2 separate regions of the Homo sapiens genome follow, and region 2 is linked to region 1. The links are contacts of gene promoters, found by promoter capture Hi-C in blood cells and fetal thymus (Javierre and others, 2016). All regions are on one chromosome and are shown on one strand. The core of a region is centred on a gene start or on the middle of the fragment in contact, and the rest is flanking DNA. Distances in the headings are between cores, read along the strand shown. Region 1 holds the start of KLF2 (KLF transcription factor 2). Region 2 overlaps LOC124900418 (collagen alpha-1(I) chain-like).

Region 1 (6,361 bases), core at 733-3,232:
GCACGTATGGCTACCCCGGCGAGCGCAACCTATCCCTAACCAGGGCCTTGACGCGCTCCCCGCGGTAGTGTTGCGCCCCTGAGGGATCCTTGCCCTACATCCCCAACTCCCCCCACAATCCGGATCCTCACCCCCAGGGGGTCGGAGGAGCGCAAGGTCCACTCCCCACTGTTGTCAGCCACGCTCCCCGACGGGTCCTAAGCATGCACCCTCTCTCCAGCATTCTAAGACACGGAATCTCTCAAGGTTTCCCAGCGAACACTCCCTCCCCAAGGTCCTGAGCCTTGTCCCCAGAGGAGTCCCAAGCCTGAGCGCCCTCCCCAACTTCCTGAGACGCAGCATCTCCCCGGGGTTCCTAAACGCGCACCTACTCCCCAACTACCTGAGCCTCAGCCCCGGGGATTCTGAGCCAAGTGCCCAGCGGCTCCTAAACCTGCTCCCCCTCCCCAACTTTCTGAGACTGTCTCCCTAGCCACGCCTCCAGGAGGTTTTCTAAGTGCTCTTCCCAACCTCCGGAGGCCCCCCTCGTCCTAAGCGTGCAAGCCCCCACCCCAACCTCTCGGATCACACTTCCTTAGGGAGTGTTCCTGTGTGCCCCCCCAACCAACCTCCCGAGCCACGCCTCCTGGGGAGTCCTAAGCGTGCACCACCTGCCAGATCCCCCTGAGCCACGCCCCAAGGGAGGTCCTAAATTCATTTTCTGGCGCGCGCTGGGAATCCGACCTCTCCTCCCGCGTCCCCCCGCCTGCGCTCCTGGCTCGTGCGTGCCGCCCACCTGTGTGCGTGCGCAGATGCGCCTTCAGATGCGAACTCTTGGTGTAGGTCTTGCCGCAGCCCGCGTAGCTGCAGGTGTGAGTGGCGGTGCGTTTGCGGGGCCAAGAGCGGCGGCCGCGCTTTGGCTTGGCCTCCAGCAGCTCCAGCGGGGACGCAGGCGGCGTGAGGAGACCGCGGGCGGCGGGGGGCGCCAGGCCCAGGGCTGCCGCGGCGGCGGCCGCGTCGTCGAAGAGACCGAAGGCTGGGGGCGCAGGCGGCGCGTAATGCAGGCCGGGCCCGGGCGCGCCGAAACCAGGGCCACCGAAAGGCGGCGGGAAGGAGGCGCGCGGACCGGGCGCGGGCAGGCGCGCGGGGCCGTCGGGGCTGAGCGGCGGTGTGTCGGGCGGCGGCGGGGGGCGGCCCCCGGGACCTCGCATGCACGAAGCCGCCGGGCCCGGGGCGCCCTCGCGCTTGAGGCCGCGCGGTCCACGGGTCAGCCCGGGGGCGCAGCCGTAGCCGCCGCCGCCGTCCGCTTCAGGGGGCTCGGCCTTGACCAGGCGGCCGGGCGGCGCCAGCAGAAAGCGGCCGTGCAGTGCGGGCCCCAGCGGCGCATCCAGCTCGGGTCGCAGCAGCTCAGACACCAGGCCACCCGCGGGGGCGCTGTAGGGCGGGGGCGCGCCGGGTTCGGGGTAATAGAACGCAGGCGGCGGGGGCGGCGGCGGCGGCTCCGGGGCGGCCTCGGCGCCCAGGCCATCCAGCCCCATGGACAGGATGAAGTCCAGCACGCTGTTGAGGTCGTCGTCGGTGCCGCCGGACTCGGGTTCGGCGCGCGGCCAGCGCTGCGGGCGACAGGGCAATGGGCGTGAGCGGGCGGCGGGGCTCGGGGGGCGCTGCTTGCCTTTTACCACCCTAAGTCCGCGATCCCCGTGGCCCGCATCCTCCTCTCCTGAGTCTGCAGTCCCCGCCTTCGCGTCCTGTCACCCCGCAGCCCACGTTCTACTACCCCGAGCCCGCCGCCCACGGTCCCGGCCGCCCCGCCGTCCCCGCCGCCCTCACCTCCTGCAGGCCGCGCTCGCGGCACGGGCTGGCGAAAGTGGAGAAGGACGGCAGGATGGGTTCACTCAGCGCCATGGCCGGGACCCGGGGAGAAAGGACGCGGACGGGGACACCGGTGAGTGGCTGCCCGAGGCCGGGCTGGTCGGGGCGCGGGCGGGCGGGGACGGCTCTGTGGGCCGCGGCCGGGCCCGCCCAAGCCTTATAGGCGCGGCGCGCGCGGGGGCCGGGCCAAAGCGGCGGCGGCGGAAACGCGTCCCGGATGGGGACGAGCTCCGGGCGCAGCCTAAATTTAGCCGCGGTATATAAGCCGGCGGGCGGCAGCGGCCGTGGCCACTGCGGCGGCCTGGGCCTTGCGCTGACAGCCCGGCCCCTCGCGCGCCGCCAGGGCCGCGCCTCCCCCTCTCCCGGGCCCCGCCCCCGCCCGTCTCCCCGGCGACGTTGTCAACACGCGCTCCACAACAGCGGCGTGACGCTCAGGGATCCCCCGGGCGCCCCGGGCTCCCGCCTGCGCGAGCATCCCGGGGACCTGGAGCGGGGGCGGTGTCGGGGCCTCTCAGAGACTCTCAGGGGAGCACCGGGCTTGGCGGTCTCCCCGGATCCCTTGACGGAAGGGGAGATTGGCTCCAGCCTCAGAGAGGGCTGCAGAACCCTGGATGGATGGGAAGTCTGGAGTCTCCAGGATTCATGGATGGGTGAGGCTGGGCCCCTCATCTGTTGTGGGACCACCCAGAGGGACCCACCGTGTGCACATCACCCTGTAAAAAAAAACACCTTGTGTAGACCTGGTGCAGTGGGTCACATCTGTAATCCCACCGCTTTGGGAGGCTGAGACAGGAGGATCACTCGAGGCCAGGAGTTCAAGACCAGCCTGGGCAACACAGTGGCCCCCATCTCTTAAAAAATAAAAAAAATTAGCTGGGTGTAGTGGGAGGCTGAGGTGGGAGGATCGCTTGAGCCCAGGAGGTCGAGGCTGCAGTGAGATACAATCACACCACTACACTCCAGCCTGGGTGACAGAGGAGACTGTCTCAAAAAAACAAACAAAACAAAACTTTTGTGTGGTAACATCAAGACACATTAAATCTTTGACATTTGAGACACCCACCCCCTCCTCCCCAACCTCAATAAGCCCGTCAAGTGCAGGGAAACTGAGGCAGAGGTGGCTGGGAGAAGTTGGAGTTGCGGCAGGCACAGGCAGGCTGGGTTCCTTTACTGACTTCCATAAATGAATTAAGTAACTCAGAGGACGGTGATGACAGTCATTCCCCCAATACAGCTCCAGCATCGGGGGCATCAGAGGACAATGCTGCCCAATGGGTCCCTTCAATGCTCCACCTCTGTCCCCCACACCATATCCCTGCTGGCCAGGGACTGTCACTCCTGTTACAACTGTCTGCCAGCCCTGGGTAGGCACTGGGGACACAGTAACCAAGAGATAGACAAGATCCCTGCCCTAGGGGACCTCCACTTTAGTGAAGGAGGGAAGGATAGAGGTTTATTCATTTGAGTTTTTTTGAGACAGGGTCTCCCTCTGTTGCCCAGTCTGGAGTGTAGTAGTGCAATCACAGCTCACTGCAGCCTCGAACTCCTGCGCTCAAGAGATCCTCCTGCCTTAGCCTCCCAAGTAGCTGGGATTACAAGGTGCACACCACCATGCCTGGCTAAATTTTTTTTTTTGTATTTTTTTGTAGAGACGGGGTCTCACTATGTTGCCCAGGCTGGTCTTGAAGTCCTGGGCTCAGGCGATCCACCCGCCTCGGCCTCCCAAAGTGCTGGGATTACAGGTGTGAGCCATTGCGCCTGGCCTTACTGATAGGGGTTTAAAAAGAAAAATGGAGCAGTAGAAGGGACTAGAAAGTGAGTGTGAGATGAGGGAGTGGGAAGGAGAAAATGGGGAAATTCTGAATCTCACCCAGGGGGTGAAATGTGAGCTAATGTGAAAAAGTCATTGGGGACCATGTGGGTATGGGAGGAAGAGCATCCCAAGGAGGAACTTGGAGCCAGGTGGTGAGGGATGCAGGCAGCTCCTGCCCTGGAAGCTTGGACTCTCAGCCTCTGCAGAAATGCACTCTGCAGGGTCCCCTCTGCAGCCCCCACCAAACCCAGTCACCGGAGACTTCAAGTTGAATACAAACTTGCTTTCTGCAGTTGCCACTGAAATGGCTGCGAGTCAGCCTCAGCCACTGAGCACGCGCTGTGTGACCTTGAACCAGTGGCTTTGGCTGTTTGGGCTTGCCTCCTCAATCTTCGAAATGCAGATAAGAATAGTACCTTACCCCAAATGGCTATTGTGAGTTCACACAGGCTCTTTTCTTTGTTGTGGAAGTAGGTGACATCTTGTGTGACACTGAATTCTCTACCAGCGCTTGGGAGATGGGCCTGCTTGTGTGCTTTGGGAATTGAATTGCCTTTCTCTGGGCCTCAGTTTCCCCGTATGATAATGATGGAAAGATTAAGGGAATCAGGAATTTCTCCTCAAGGATATGGGATGCCTGGGCAGCTGCCGGGAAGGGTTTTTGTTTGTTTGTTCCTTTGCTTTGGCCAAGACCGTCGGCTGGGCGCAGTGGCTCACACCTGTAATCCCAGCACTTTGGAAGGCTGAGGCGGGCAGATCACTTGCGGTTAGAAGTTGGAGACTAGCCTGGTCAACACGGTGAAACCCTGTCTCTACTAAAAATACAAAAATTAGCCGGGCGTGGTGGCGTGTGCCTATAATCCCAGCTACTGAAGAGGCTAGAATCGCTTGAACTTGGGAGGTGGAGGTTGCAGTGAGCCGAGACCGTGCCACTGCACTCCAGCCTGGGTGACAGGGTGACAGAGTAAGACTCTGTCTAATTAAAAGAAAAAAAAAAAAAAAAAGACCTCTGACCACAGCATCCCTCTAGTTTGTCAGAGAGCACCTTGGTCCCCTGGGCCTCTGAGCCTTGCTCACTGGCACCTGCAGCTTGTCTGAGGTACCTCTCTGCCTTCCTCCTCTCTCACTGTCTCTGTTTGGGTCCTGAAACACACCAAGCACATTCCCCTCTGCGCTCACTGCGCCCCCGACCAGCGTTCCTTTCTTTCCATTTCCAATTGTGAAGCTCCGTCGTCTCTGCCTGTCTCTCTCTCTCTCTTTTTTTTCAACCTCCCTTAACTAACGTACTTTATTTATTTGTTTATTTTTGAGACAGAGTCTTGCTCTGTTGCCCAGGCTGGAATGCAGTGGCTCAATCTTGGCTCACTGCAGCTTCCGCCTCCCGGGTTCCAGGGATTCTCCTGCCTCAGCCTCCTAGGTAGCTGGGATTACAGGCACCCGCCACCATGCCCAGCTAATTTTTGTTTGTTTGTTTGTTTTGTTTTAGTAGAGACAGAGTTTCACCATGTTGGCCAGGCTGGTCTCAAACTCCTGACCTCAAGTGATCCGCCCGCCTTGGCCTCCCAAAGTGCTGGGATTTGGGAGGCGTGACTCACAGCGCCTGGTCTGGACTTTTATTTTCTACAGCAGTTTTAGGTTTACAGAAAAATTGAGCACGAAGTACACGGCGTTCCCAGGTAGCACCCCTCGCACCACCCCAACCTTTCTCCTATTATCATCTTGCATTAGTGTGGTGCATTTGTGACAATTACTGAGCAGAGAGGAATATATTGTTATTAACTAATAATAATAATAATCCATAGTTTATTTATTTATTTATCTTGACACAGGGTCTTGCTCTGTCATCCAGGCTGGAGTGCAGTGACGCGGTCATGGCTCACTGTAGCCTCAAACTCCTAGGCTCAAGCCATCCTCCCAGCTCAGCCTCCCAAGCAGCTGGGACTACAGATGTGCACCATTATGCCTGGCTGATTTTTGTTTGTAGAGACAGGGTCTTGCCATGAGTAATTCAATCCATGAGTAATGGGTTAAATAGTGGCCCCACAAAGAAATGTCTGAGTCTCAATCCCTGGCACCTGTGACTATGACCTTATTTAGAAAGAGTTTCTTTGGCTGGGCACAGTGGCTCACGCCTGTAATCCAAGCACTTTGGGAGGCCGAGGCAGGTGGATCACCTGAGGTCAGGTGTTCAAGACCAGCCTGGCTAACATGGAAACCCCGTCTCTACTAAAAATATAAAATTAGCCAGGCACGGTGGCTTGCGCCTGTAGTCCCAGCTACTTGGGAGGCTGAGGCAGGAGAATCACTTGAATCCGAGAGGTGGAGGTTGCAGTGAGCCGAGATCGCACCCTTGCACTCCAGCCTGGGCGACAGAGTGAGACTGTCTCAAAAACAAAAAGAGTTTCTCTGCAGACATCATGAAGCGTCTTGAGGTGAGACCATCCTGGATTAAGGTGTGCCCTGATCCAGCGACAAGAGTCCTTAGGAGAGAAAGGACGCAGGAACACAAACACAGAGAAGAAGGGCATGTGAAGATGGCCAGAGATTGGAGTGAGGCAGCCACAGGCCCAGGGATATCTCCGGAGCCACCAGCAGCAAAACTGGGAAAAGATTCTTTTTGTTTCTTTTTTTTTTTTTTTAGATAGAGTCTCCCTCTGTAGCCCAGGCTGGAGTGCAGTGGCGTGATCTTGGCTCACT
Region 2 (6,361 bases), core at 2,390-4,889, 490 kb after region 1:
ATCAAGAAATAACCATAAAAATGGGCCACCAGCAGCCCTTGGGACTGCTCTGTCTATGGAGTAGCCATTCTTTTATTCCTTTATTTTATTTTTTTTTTTTGAGAGACAGAGTCTCACTCTGTCACCCAGACTGGAGTGCAGTGGCGCTATCTCGGCTCACTGCAACTTCATCCTCCTGGATTCAAGCGATTCTCCTGCCTCAGCTTCCCAAGTAGCTGGGATTGCAGGCGTGCACCCCTATGCCAAGCTAATTTTTGTATTTTTAGTAGAGACAGAGTTTCACTAGATGTTAGTCAGGCTGGTCTTGAACTCCTGACCTCAGGTGACCTGTCTGCCTCGGCCTCCCTAAGTGCTGGGATTACAGGCATGAGCCACCATGCCCAGCCCTTATTCCTCTACTTTTTAAATGAACTTGCTTTCAGCTTAGGGACTCACTCTGAATTTTTTCTTGTGTGAGATCCAAGAACCCTCTCTTGGGGTCTGGATCAGGACCCCTCTCCTGTAACAACTCCTTGTGAGAATTTTCTGTTGGCAAAAACCAAGGCATTGAAGGAGGGAAGCATTTCCACACTGTGAGAATGGGGCAAGAGAACATGGTAGGCTGACAGAGTTAAATCCTTAGGTTTCCCTGCCTCGTCACCCCTGGTCTGGTCCACCCTGGGTCTCCACTTCAGCAGAACATGGCTCTCAAGCTTGGGAATAAGTTTAACCCCTTGAAGGCGATTTTCTTTTTGAACTGTGGGTGTGGCACCCTGCTTATCTGAACAAGCTCATTTTTTGCCTTTTTGTGTTTTGATTCCTTTATGGAATATTGCTGTCATATAACTCTGTTTTTTTCATGCATTTAATAATTGTTCTTGCTGCTGTGTCTTTATCTTCTTGTATGAAAAGGAATAGATTGAATGATAAGGTATGAGAAACCCTTACTTTCGTTGCCAACAGCCTCACCCCAAAGGTCCTCCCTCCTGTTCCAGTCTTGCCTGGCCTGGCCTCCCCTCCTGCTCTGACGCCACGGGATCCTTGGCTCCACTGGGCCCCCAAAATCACTGAGCTAAAGGGAAAATTCAAGCTGGGAACTGCTCAGGACAAACCTGCCTTCCATTCTATTCGAAGTCATCCCTCCAGCTCACTGAGATAGACGCATATTCTGATTGCCTCCTTTGGAAAGGCATATTGGAAACTCAGGAGAAGGCAACCACTTGTCTCTCCGTGACCTGGAAGCCCTCTCCCTGCTTCGAATTGTCCCCATCTTTCTGGATAGAACCAAATACTCCTTATATATATTGACTGATGTCTCATGTCTCCCTAAAATGTATAAAACCAAACTGTTCCCTGACCACCTTGGGCACATGTCAGAACTTCCTGAGGCTGTGTCAGGGGTGCATGTCCTTAACTTTGGCAAATAAACCTCCTAAAATGATTGAGCCTTGTCTGGGCATTTTTCTTGATGGACAACACTGTGTGGAATTTCCCCTAGTCCAGGAGGAAGAAAGAGGAAGGGCCCAGTGAGTACTGATGAATGCCAGTGTCCACTTGCAAATGTCACCCCACCCCCACCCCCAATCCCCAGAGGTCCTTGTTTGAAATGCTTGTTCTCGGGCGCTGTAAAGAATAGCACTTGAACATGAATTTAATTTCTTCAGCAAGGCCAGTTTCTTACTTTCCGCAGAAAAGATACACTTGCTAGCAGTTTTTGCCACGAGAGTACACTGAACAAAAGAGACAAGGTCATTTACAACTTGACGCGTCTACCCTACTGCTGTGTCCAGTTACCATTAGCTGGAACAAGACCTCACACTCTGTATTTATCCCAATCAGCTAGCAACTTAGAACTTTTTTTAAAAAGGCAAAAGCAGAAGAAAACAAAAGAAAGAAGTAACTTGTAGAACGCTAAGAAAAGTAAAAACACCTTCAAATAAAGAACAAGCTACGACCTAATACTTGGTTAGACTAGTATAAGCATGCCAAAGCAAATATTTAAGCTAAAATGTAAAAGCTAGGAACATAAAGTACATTGATTTCTTTATTACAGCTAGCAAATATTTAAGAATATTAGTACAAGTCTTTAAATAAATGTTGCTTCTAAAACAAGTTATTGTTTGTAAAAAGTAAAGTAGAGGTTCCTCTTCAAAAATTTTCCTTCCCATTCGATTAGGAATAAATAGTAACTTCTCTTAAAAGCAAAATTTATTCAAAGACCTGTGCTAACATTCTTAAATATCTGCTAGCCATAATAAAGAAATCAATATACTTTATGTTCTTAGCTCCCACAATTTAGCCCAAATATTTGCCCTGGTATGCTTATACTGGTCCAAGCAAGCATTAAGTCATAGCCTCTTCCTCTTCCTTATTTGAAGGTGTTTTTACCTTTCTCAGCATTCCACAAGTTACTTCCTTCTTCCTTTGTTCTCCTCCACCTTTGCCTCTTTTAAAACGTTCTAAGTTGCTAGCCAATCAGGACAAACACAGAATGTGAGGTCCCGTTCCAGCCAATGGAAACTGGACACAGCAGTAGGGTGGACACCTCAGGTTATAAATGACCCTGTCTCCTTTGCTCGGTGTACGCTCGTGGCAAAACTGCTGGCGAGTGTACCCTTTCTGCAGGGAGTAAAAATGGCCTTGCTAAATAAATTAATGTTAAAGTGCTATTTCTTTATGGCACCAAAAACCAAGCATTTCAAACACTATTTATTCTTAATTAGATGAAGAAGGAAGTCTTTGAAGAAGAACCTCTACTTTTCTTTTTACATCCTGACACGAGGAAGACAACAAGCCCAGTTGCCAGGAACCGCCCATTTGGGCTCCACGCAGCCAAGTGTCTTCTCGGGTCTCCTGTCTTTCTAACCCCAGGGGGCGGGACCTGAAGCGGTATCCAATCAGGGGCACTAGGGGCCGTACTAACTATCCAATCAGGAGCGTAGCCGTAGCCGGGGGACGTGGCGGGCTGTGGAAGCTTCAGTTTCTGGCGGTTTCTTTGTTTTTTGGGGTTTGGGGTCTTTGCTGCTCGCGCAGGCCCTCCTCCCCTCTAATCCCCGTCGCCGCCCCTCTGCGACGTGAGCAGGCCCAGGGGAGGACGCCGGGACACCCGGAAGCCGGAAATGCTGAGTGTGCGGGGCCGGACGTCCCGAGACCGGAGGAGGAGCTGGTGGAACCAGCCGGATCTGGCTGTGGCGGGACCCGGGCCTGTCCGCTGCGACTCCGGGGTCTGGGACCCGAGTTCCCCTGGAGCAGCTCGGCCCTCGGTCCTCTCGGCCGCAGGGTGGGGCTGGGCCGGCAGCTGGGACTCCGGGAGTCCTGTCCTGTCCCTGCGCAGTGACTGTCGCCCCAGAGCCCTCTCTGGGCAGCTCCGCATCTCCCCAGATTGTGCGGGGGCCACGGGAGGATCATGGGGGGATCCCGCCTCCGGCCTGGGGATCCTGTGGGAGGAGCCATGGCCTGTGGGCTCCCCAGTCCCGCCTTTCCCCCCGAAGGCGGCCCCCGCTTCTCCCTGAGTCTTCCAAAAGGTGTGCGAAGCCGGGTCTCCGCGACCCGGTCCCCCAGCCTCGCTCCCCCTTGGGCTGGCCGTAAATCTTGTAATGAACGTTTCCCTCCCCGCATTCTCTAACGCCAGCGTCTCCACTGCAATCCACATGGTTCTCAACTGTTAGTCCCTTTGTTGTACGTTTCAAATCGACGTGGCATTTAAATGATCATCGTTCCACAGAGCAGTGGCTGACTCTTTTAGGAAGATTTCTTTTCTGTCACCTTTTCACATATAAGGAAAGGAAAGGAAAACCACATGAAACGCCTCTGTTTACAAAAGCCTTTGTGCCGCTACTTTTATCTTAGACACCTCATCAGACTGCCTTTGGGTTGAGGTTCCTGTCACGCGTGTCCGTATAGAAGACACCCAATCAGGCTTTGTGTGAGCAACAAGGCTGTTAATTCACTTGGGTGCAAGTGGGCTGAGTCCGAAAAGAGAGTCAGTGAAGGGAGATAGGAGAGGGGCAGCTTTATAGGGCTTGGGTAGGCGTGGAAAGTTACAGTTAAAGGTGGTTATCCTCAGCAGAGGAGGGGGTCACAAGGTGCATGGTGGAGAGATGATGGGACTCATTGTCCAGGAGAAGAATGTCACAGGGTTGATTGATCAGTTGGGGCAGGGCAGGAACAAGTCATAATGGTGGACAAGTCATAATGGTGGAATGTCGTAAGGTGGGTTAATTAGTTAAGGCAGGAACTGGCTGTTTCACTTCTTTGTGGTTTTTCGGCTGCTCCAGACTTCTTGGCTCCTGCAGGCCACCTGGACGGATATGTGCAGGTCACAGGGGTTACAATGGCTAAGCTTCAGCTCACAGGCCTGACATTTTTGTCTTTTTATTTATAAAATATGAAGTTGTAGGAAAAGATTAAAAAAAAGTGTAAGTTCCTTCTGGGGATTACTGGGGTAGGGCTGATATTTCTCCGGACTGCTTCAAGTGTGACCAGGGACTGCGTGGACACCTTAAAGAAAATTTTATAATGAGTCTAGTAAGTTTCGGGTCTAGGGTGCATTTTTATGTAGCTAACAAGGTGCCAGTTAGCGTATTTTTGAGCTTGGAACTGCCCTAATAAAATAAGTTCTCTAAAAACAGTAATCAGGCATATTAGCTTTAATGTAGGTGGCGATGAGTTTTTAGGCCAAGGAAGGAATAATGTTTTATGTACCAAAGCCTTTTGTCCCCATTTTCCATCATACGAATAGTATTCCCTGTTGCTAAGCCGATGATACATTACCCTTTTCCCATAGGTGTGAGTGGCGGTCTGAATGGAGAAGTTCAATAGTTCTGATTGCAGATCCTATGCAGAAGAGATAATAAGGAAAATAATCTTTGTCTCCTGGATTAAGCTGAGGCTGGCAAAGAGTGAAATGTCCCAAGCCCTCTAACAACAAACAACATACTTTGTGTTGTCCTGGATGCTGGTCTGGTTGCCAAATATGTGGAACTGGCCCCATATGCGTGTACTGTTGTCCATTTCATGAGAGTAGGCTTGAGGACACCATGGGCAAGGATCTGATGGTTGCCAGCCTAAGCGTTTTAGACTTTTGACCCAGAGATTTTTTGTTTTGGGTGTGGAAAAAATTTTAGAGGATAGGGTCTCAAGATATAATCCTTTTTATAGGCGGCAGGTCTTAAGAGATGAGGGTCCAGAGGAACGGATGAAGCCTGCTTGGAAGCATGCTGGGATGGCCATTTGGAAGGAGTGTTGCAAGGAAGCATGGCCTTGGCTGGGCGCTGCCAGGAGCTTAAGGGTTGTAGGTTGTTTGTCTGATCGGCTCTCGGCCTAATCTTGTGGCTTCCAGGAGGAAGAGGAGAGATCAAGCTGGCTGTCTGATGGGCATGGCTTTATTCTGGAATGGTGAACCCAATGGAGAGGGTCCTGCAGATGGACGGCAGTTGGTGTGCTATAAATGACCGGGTAGGGTCTGGTCCATTGAGGCTGTAGAGTTTGAGGGGTCAGACTTTTGACAAGGACTGATCGTCCAGCTAGGGTGTCTTCATATGGCTGGGAATCTGGAGTAGGCAAGAGAAGATTAGCAGCTTGGCAAATTTCCTGTCTAGCCTGCTAGAGGACTGGAAGATAGTTGCCCAGGGGGCTGGTGTCTGGAACAAGATTGTGGCTGAGTAAGAAGGTGCATCCATATAAAATTGAAATGGGTTGTACCCTGTGGCTTCTCAAGGACAGGCCCTAATTCTGAGGAGGGCAAGTGGTAAAAGTACTGTCCAGTCCTTTTTAAGTTGGAGGCTGAGCTTGGTGAGGTGTGTTTTTAAAAGACCATTCATCCGTTCTACCTTTCCTGAAGATTGAGGACGGTAGGGGGTATGAAGTTTCCACTGAATACCAAGAGCCTGAGAAACTGTGGAAGTAGGGAGGCCAAATTGGGGGATTATATCTGTCAGAAGGGAAGAAATGACTGTAGTAGCCTTTCAGAGCTAGTGGGAAAGGCCTCGACCCATCCGGTGAAGGTATTGGCCCAAACCAGGAGATATTTAAATTTACAGACACGCGGCATATGAATAAAGTCAATTTGCCAATCTTGTGTCGGAGGAAATCCATGAGCCTGATGCGTAGGAAAAGGAGGAGGCCTGAGAAGACCTCGGGGGTTGGTGGCATGGCAGACAGAGCATTGAGAGGTGATGGTTTTAAGGATGGATTTCCATGATGGGATGGAAATGAGGGGCTGTAGGAGGCCAGCCAGAGGCTTATATCCTATATGGAAATGGTCATGAAGGGAAGAGAGAGTAGACTGGGCTTGTGAGGCAGGAAGAACGAATTTTCCATGATCTAAGAACCACTTGCCCTGAGTTGGAAAAGACTGGTAGAGCAGGTTTTTTAGAAGAGG

What was found. The method cuts DNA at HindIII sites, captures the fragments that hold promoters and counts their contacts. A CHiCAGO score of 5 or more calls a contact.
Region 2: a fragment that was not itself captured here is called in contact with the fragment with the promoter of KLF2 in region 1 in 2 of 17 cell types (naive CD4 T cells and non-activated CD4 T cells); the score reaches 7.6 in naive CD4 T cells.

The regions. Positions count from the first base shown.
Region 1 is chr19:16,320,447-16,326,807 of GRCh38, reverse strand. KLF2 (KLF transcription factor 2) reads right to left here and starts at 1,982. Exons shown (of 3, transcript NM_016270.4): 1 at 1,810-1,982; 2 at 776-1,592. The coding sequence starts at 1,884. KLF2-DT (KLF2 divergent transcript) reads left to right here and starts at 2,138. Exons shown (of 2, transcript NR_186323.1): 1 at 2,138-2,501. RefSeq lists silencers at 755-844, 1,315-1,364, 1,395-1,644, 1,735-2,464, enhancers at 644-1,414, 1,415-2,187 and a promoter at 1,837-2,672. The HindIII fragment of the contact is 6,001 bases long and covers 1-3,850 here.
Region 2 is chr19:15,833,672-15,840,032 of GRCh38, reverse strand. It overlaps LOC124900418 (collagen alpha-1(I) chain-like), which reads right to left. Exons shown (of 3, transcript XM_047439793.1): 3 at 2,653-4,815. The coding sequence starts at 3,631. The coding sequence ends at 3,026. UCA1 (urothelial cancer associated 1) reads right to left here. Exons shown (of 3, transcript NR_015379.3): 3 at 3,712-5,531. Among named protein-coding and RNA genes, the nearest start is that of UCA1, 7.9 kb to the right of the region's middle. RefSeq lists enhancers at 2,596-2,745, 2,886-3,115, 3,896-5,095 and a silencer at 3,246-3,465. The HindIII fragment of the contact is 1,368 bases long and covers 2,956-4,323 here.